Linked DNA regions of Homo sapiens: region 2 is linked to region 1. The links are contacts of gene promoters, found by promoter capture Hi-C in human tissues and cell types (Jung and others, 2019). All regions are on one chromosome and are shown on one strand. Each heading gives the region's core, a stretch centred on a gene start or on the middle of the fragment in contact. The rest is flanking DNA. Distances are from core to core; before and after follow the strand shown.

Evidence for each region. The method cuts DNA at HindIII sites, captures the fragments that hold promoters and counts their contacts. A contact is called where the count stands out against the background at its distance.
Region 2: a contact is called between a fragment that was not itself captured here and the fragment with the promoter of SLC19A3 in region 1, in 2 of the 25 tissues and cell types used here (IMR-90 fibroblasts and lymphoblastoid cells).

The regions. Positions count from the first base shown.
Region 1 is chr2:227,716,407-227,719,994 of GRCh38, forward strand. SLC19A3 (solute carrier family 19 member 3) reads right to left here and starts at 1,622. Exons shown (of 6, transcript NM_025243.4): 1 at 1,537-1,622. RefSeq lists an enhancer at 1,153-2,039. The HindIII fragment of the contact is 9,813 bases long and covers 1-3,588 here.
Region 2 is chr2:227,179,158-227,182,745 of GRCh38, forward strand. All of the region lies in intron 1 of COL4A3 (collagen type IV alpha 3 chain), which reads left to right. Among named protein-coding and RNA genes, the nearest start is that of COL4A3, 16 kb to the left of the region's middle. The HindIII fragment of the contact is 5,974 bases long and covers 1-3,588 here.

The DNA.
Region 1 (3,588 bases), core at 372-2,871:
CTTTGACATGCTGGAGACCTCAAGGTCTCTCTGACCTTCCCGGCTCCCAGCTCAAAAAAACCTTTGTCTGCCTAAGATCCAGACCCACCAAAAGGAACAACTGTTTCTTTTCCCTTCCCTGTAAGACCAAGAATATACCCCACACCTGAACAGACCCATTCACAAGATAATGTAGCTTATTCTCTCCCCTGACCCATTCATGCTCCCTAGCAGAAGCCCATCCACTTCTGCTGGATGCTCTTCGGCTCCCTCCCGTAACCTCATTTGCCAGGGTAGTCTATAAGCTTCTGAGACATGTTGCAGGGTGGGTAATCAATCACTCTGATTCTCCCTGTGTGCATGTTAAATAAATGTGTATGCATTTACCATTACACAACCTTAAAAGAGTGTTGTTGGTCTATTAGCAATAATGACTGAAGGAAATTGGTATTTTTGTCCATTTCAGCTACTACTAGGATAATCTTATAAGATATTTGGGAAGTTATGTTTTGGTCTATTTAATATATGTGCCTCGATGAAAAAAACACCTTTTGCCACAGGAGACACCAATGTTTCAATATTGATAGGAGCAAAACACATGAGAGTGCTTTTTTTTTTTTTTTTTTTTTTTTTTTGAGGCAGAATCTTGCTGGGTCGCCCAGGCTGGAGTGCAGTGGTGCAATCTTGGCTCACTGCAACCTTCGCCTCCCAAGTTCAAGCCATTCTTCAGCCTCAGCCTCCAGTGTAGCTGGGATTACAGGCACCCGCCACCATGCCCGGCTAATTTTTGCCTTTTTAGTAGAGACGGGGTTTCATCCCAGGGCCAAGCTGGTCTCGAATTCCTGACCTCAAGCAATCCGCCCCGCTCAGCCTCCCAAAGTGCTGGGATTACAGGCGTGAGCCACTGCGCCTGGCCTGAGAGTACTTTTAGAAAACATTATTCCTTTACCTTTTTCAAACTTGAAGCACTCCGAAAGTCCCAACCTTTTGCACATTTGCGGCAGCGACATTGATTTGGTAAACAGCTGTCACACTATTTATTATTTGATGACTTAGGTATCCTTTCCAGCAGTGTTTTTGTAAGGTGTAGTTGCGTTTTCTTTTAGTTTCAATTAACTAAATTTCAAGTGGTTCCCAAAAAAGCCCCTGCTCTCTTAAATTCAAACTCACCTTCCTTTTTCCCACTAGGAAGGACCTTTTCTCCATCCTTGGATTGGAATTTGGAATTCTATGCTAAAATGCCTTTTCAGTTAAAATCTGTGAACGTGGGATGTAACCATAGGAGGTGCTGGCACTTTACGGGAATCATGATTTTATTTAATCTGCGCTTCCAGAAGGCTGCAAATGGGAATTCCAGACAAACCCACTTGGGTGAATCCCAGCACGCGGGCTGCGGCGTAGGGGGAGAGCTCCTCACGCGGCTCAGAGTGTAGCCCAGGCCCGCAGAGCCAGGAACCCGCCCCCAGCTCTCCAAACCCGGGAAGAGAGAGGCGACACTGCTAAGACCGAGGGATGACGGTGCTTCTTCAATTAATTCGCCCCCCGAGATATTCTTACCTACAGAAGGGAGTGTCTGTTCACCAAATCGCTCACTTGCCGCACGACCACGCACCCGCGGCTGTCGGATGGATCCAGGCGCTCTTGGTGGGAAGGGGGCGGAGCCTGCCTGGCCCGGAGCCCGGGGCCACGCCCCCACGCTTTGCATATGCGAATCCGGGCGTCCAGACCTTTCATCCCAGTGTGGAAGCCCAGATTTTCCTGGCCCAGGGCCGGTTTTCTGGGCAGAAACAGTCAACTCTGCTGAAAGGAACAACTTAAGTAATACACTGACATTCAGCATAATGAAGCAAGAGGGCCTGAATCCAACAGCGATCGTTTGCTTTATTTACAAATATGTCCTTTCTTATGAATCCATTTATTTCTCTCCAAAAGCTTAGGAGAGAGGGCTGGCTGGCTGTCACCCCCACTCTACACATGAAGAAAGTGAGGCGGAAGGAAGTAGGCCTAGTAAATAGAGAAGCCTGGGTTTTAGTTGGGGCTCCTGGCTCCAGAGCCAGTGGTTATAATCACTCTGCACTTTTTTTTTTTAAAGGAGGTAGAGTGGGATGGTTTCCTGGCACTTTGAAAATCTGATACAAACAATTTTTTCTTTTCTTCTTCTTTTTCTTTTCTTTTCTCTTTTCTTTCTTTCTTTTTTTTTTTTTTGAGACAGAGTCTCCCTCTGTCGCCCAGGATGGAGTGCAGTGGCGCGATCTCGGCTCACTACAACCCTCCGCCTCCCGGGTTCAAGCGATTCTCCTGCCTCAGCCTCCAAAAATTAACGCCCAGTTAATTTTTGTGTTTTTAGTAGAGACGGGGTTTGGTTTCACCATATTGGCCAGGCTCATCTCGAACTCCTGGCCTCGTGATCCGCCTGCCTCGGCCTCTCAAAGTGCTGAGATTACAGGCGTGAGCCACCGCGCCTGGTCTTTTTTCTTTCTTTCTTTCTTTCTTTTTTTTTTTGAGATGGAGCCTCGCTGTTGTTGGCCCCGGGCTGGAGTGCAATGGCACGATCTTGGCTCACTGCAACCTCCACCTCCCGGGTTCCAGCAATTCTTCTGCCTCAGCCTCCCTAGTAGCTGGGATTACAGGCGCCCGTCACCACACCCAGCTAATTTTTGTATTTTTAGTAGAGATGGGGTTTCACCATGTTGTCCAGGCTGGTCTCAAACTCCTGACCTCAGGTGATCCACCCGCCTCGGCCTCCCAAAGTGCTAGGATTACAGGTGTGAGCCACAGCACCCGGCCACCTGGCCTCTTTTCTTTTCTTTTCTCTTTCTTTCTTTCTTTTTTTTTTTTTTTTGACAAAGTCTCACTTTATCTCCCAGGCTGGAGTGCAGTGGTGCAACCCCAGCTCACTGCAACCTCAATCTCCCAGGCACACTGATCCTCCTGCCTCAGCCTCCCAAGTAGCTGGGCTTGCAGGTGGGTGCCACCACGTCACATTAATTTTTTTGTTTTTTTTTTTTGGTAGAGACAGAGTCTCACTATCTTGCCCAGGCTGGTCTTGAACTCCTGGGCTCAAAGGATCCTCCTGCCTTGCCCGCCCAAAGTGTTGGGATTACAGGCATGAGCCACTACGCTTAGCCTGCAAAGAGTTTATATATTAAAGTGAAACTTCTTATTAAACAGAGAATTTTTTTAAAGCATTACAAGGTTCTTATTGGTTAAAATGGAAAAAATATTTTTATTTCTGTTCATCTCTTGGTGGACTTGAAAAACCCTCCCTAAAGATAAACACTGCGTGGCTTCTAAGGGCTACCAGTGGAAGTGAAATGGATTAAAACACCCCGAGGTGTCTTGGTTCTCTGTCCTACGACTCTGCGTTTTCTATTTTCATCTTCCTATGATTTGTGAAAAGTCCTGAGCTGAACCTTAGGTGTAGGAGTGCCCTGCTCATTGTGCAACCTTGCAAATTGCTGGGTCCTCCCAAAGAATATTGTGAAATTTTCTTAAAGGCTGAAGGTGTCATGATTTCCTTCACACCTCTTGAAGAAAATGAGTTCAAATTGGACCTTGAGAAGTTTACTCTGATTCTCTAATATCTCATAGCCACAGTCTAAATCAGAG
Region 2 (3,588 bases), core at 749-3,248, 540 kb before region 1:
CCAGGCTAGTCTTGAACTCATGGGCTCAAGTGATAGGCCGGCCTCAGCCTCCCAAAGTGCTGGGTTTACAGGCATGAGACATCGTGCCTGGCCACAGCCCTTTCCAACCAAAAACTTCCCAGATAATTAAAAATGAGTGTCAGATGCCACTGTATTTACCATTTAAGTAATTAAGTAATATATGAGATAAATTTGAGTTTTAAAATGATGAATGCTTCATGAGACTTAAAAAAAGCATCAATTAATTACTTTTATTTACTGAAATATTACTTGACTCTGCAATCTAAAAATAGTTTAACCTACTTCCATGTTGCTTCCCTTACTCAACTCCTTGAAGAAGTTTTCACGTCTCATCCATCTTTGTGGTTCGAGCTCTTAATGTCACAGTTGGTATTTTATTAGATATCCAAACTAAAAAGTCAATAAAGAATTAGTAGTTCTTTAATCCTTTGACAGAAGAATAAAACGTTATTTTGGGACAAAACATTGAATGTTTCATTCATTCATTCCACAAGGCAGCAAATACTTTTCCATATCTTACTATGTGAGGGGTACAGTGCTACACGCTGGGAACAAAGGGAGATAAAACTCATGTGGTCCCTTCTGTCCTCATGGAGTATGCAATCAAGTGATGGGCTTAGATACGTGTGCAGAGAATAATAGTAAAATTATGCATGTTATAACGAGGTAAATATGGAAAAGCAAACTTTGAGTGGAGTTGAGAGGAGGAATAAGATTGATAAATGTACTGAACAGTGAACTTGCAGGCATTATATTAAGCAAATGCGTAAGTGCAACGGAGCCAGAAAGTATTATAGTAAGATTTCAGTGGCTTGAAAACATTGTTTATCTGCAAAGTAAAGTGCTTAAAACTGTTGGTAATGAACTCAGAAAGCAACAAGTAGAGTTACTGGGCGGTGCGGTGCTTTTACTGTCTTCTACTTTATGCCCCAGATCAAGCCCTTGTCAGCGATTAGTAGCAGTGCTTCAAGGTTTACAGACACGGACTAGATTCTTATTTTGCCATCTTACGCAAAAGCAGATCAGCAATCCTTTCCAAAAAGCAATAAAAACTGAGAACAGGGCAGCCTCTGAAATCTTATGAGATGAGGTTCCAACTGATTGGAAGCAAGACTGCATGTCCCACGCAGGTGCCAGTGCTCTCTAATTGCTGCAGAAAGGCAGAAGAATGAGATGTGGATTTATTGAGTACTGTCTGTGCCTGGGACTGTGCCCACGAAACCGTTCAGAGCTTCTACTCGCTGTGACCTGCTCAGGCCTTTCAGAGACGGAACATTCAGAGCCCATGTGACCTGAATGAGCAGCATCCCCACACCCTACAAGGGCAGTCATGCAGGCAAGGACATCTGAGGCACCCTGGGATCTAAAAGAGGCAGTGCCCGGCAGCAGTAAGAACCCTTCATCATGGTCCAGAAGAAAGGCACTGTTGTGACAGTTTTGGGCAAGTCACTAAAATTCCAAGGCCACTCAGATTCAAATTCAGTTTCTGTTTCCTGAATCACAAGATGTGGCACATAAAATCTTCCCCTCCTATCTCCTGAAACAATACAATCGCACATTTTACACACAGTCAAGCATTCCACAAATGCCAAGTATTACTGAGACAGGAATGAGATTCAATATCAGAAAAGCAATAGTCCAAATGTTTTTTATACTCATTTAATTCTCCTTTTATTTCGTGACCTAGTATCAACTTCCTGGAATGCATTAAGGAGTTTCTTGTTTTTGAAAATATTATTCAGTGCATTCTTTGCTGCTGGTATTTTCTAATAACATTATTTGAAACATCAGCAGAAATGGCATCCTCCCTTAGGACTATCCCGATTAAAAAATGAGCAGAGTATTTACCTTACAGCATCCTGTGTAAATACTGACGCTAAAACTCAGCCAGTGATTTCATCACTTTTGTGATGACTTTATCAGGTACCTCAATGAAAATACCTGTTAATAGAGAAAAAATACCTGGTATAGAGATATTTCTGGGTAACATTTAATATTAATAATTTCTGCCTTTCTTGTCTTTAAAATAGAGAACTCTTTGACATGTATCTAAAAGAGAAGGCATGGAACCAGCTTTGGTACACAGCCTCCCTCAAATTCCATTAATGCGTAGTTGGCTGCATCAGGGTCGGCAGTATAAATTCATTTTGTGCACATTTACCGAGCACTTATGTGTGATGCACTCTTTTACAGAAACTCTTGAAATATCCTTCAGAGGATGAATCCTTGTGAAGTTTCAAAATGAAGCCACTGCAACTAATTATTAGATTGAACATAACTATTCTTTATACACAGATCTTTTTTCCCTAACTATACATGTAATGCATGTCATTTGTGAATATTTGAGATATATAGATAAAAGTAAAAACAAAACTATAAAACAAAAATAACTCCTCATATTAGAACCTGGGGATAACCAGTGAGAATATTTTGGTATATTTGCATAAAAGTGAGATCATATGGCATATGGTATTACGTATCCGGCTTTTTTGACATTATATTGTATTTTCTCACATCAGTAAATATCCCTTAAAAATGAATGCATAATATTTGATGATGTTTATATACCATAATTTAACTTAAAGTTTTTATGTTTTTAACAAGGCTATGATGATTTTTGCCTACATATCTGATTTTTTAATGACGGACATATAGTAGAATTATTAATTAGAGTAATGGGTATAATTTTTTTATACTGCAAGTTCTCCTTTCCAAATAATAGACACAGTTTTAATACTAATGAGCAAAAACATAAATAAAATCACCCTAAATTCTATCTTGTAAATATAACTAGAATTAACATTTTGATGTATATCTATCTTTTCTTATTTAATCTAAAATATGATTTCCCATAAATTGAAGATCTAATTTTTAAAAAATTTCCCCCAAATAGCCAATTTTCTCAGCATTACTTCTAGAATAACCTACTGCTGATTCCCTATTGATTTGTCTCAGCTCTTACCAAAAATGAACCATAGGAATATCTTGGCCACAAATAAATATGGAATTTACAGTTATTTTCCTTGTTTATTGGCCAGGAGTCAGCCAAATGTTTGATAGATTTAAAGCCTCCAGCCACAATCAGCTCTCCACTTCTGTGCCCCTCCACCCACTCACGACAGCTATGAATCTGGAATGAGGTGGGTTCAGAGACCTCCCATTCATGAACACCATAAAACATGCACATTGGCTCAAGATCATTCACTCATTGGAAGAGAATTTTGAGTCAGTGCATCAAAGAGCAATGTCCTGTTTTTCTAGACCACTCTACTCATCCCATCCCCTCCTGATTCTCTCATTCATTTTTAATGACCTCCCAGCAGGGGATATTTGTGAATAAAATCTATTAGATTTTTTTCTAGGTTTCTTAAAGGCTGATCTGGCTTAAACCATGCATCAAAATTAAAACTAAATTGACTTCCTTATATCAAGTTGAGCAGTAGCTTGATAAACATTATAGTGCATTATAATCTCAGAAATAGATTATATAATAGCTATATTATTATCTCAGAAGCAAATATAATGGGGAAAAAACAGATTTGTAATAAAGGCCTTAACACCCACAAT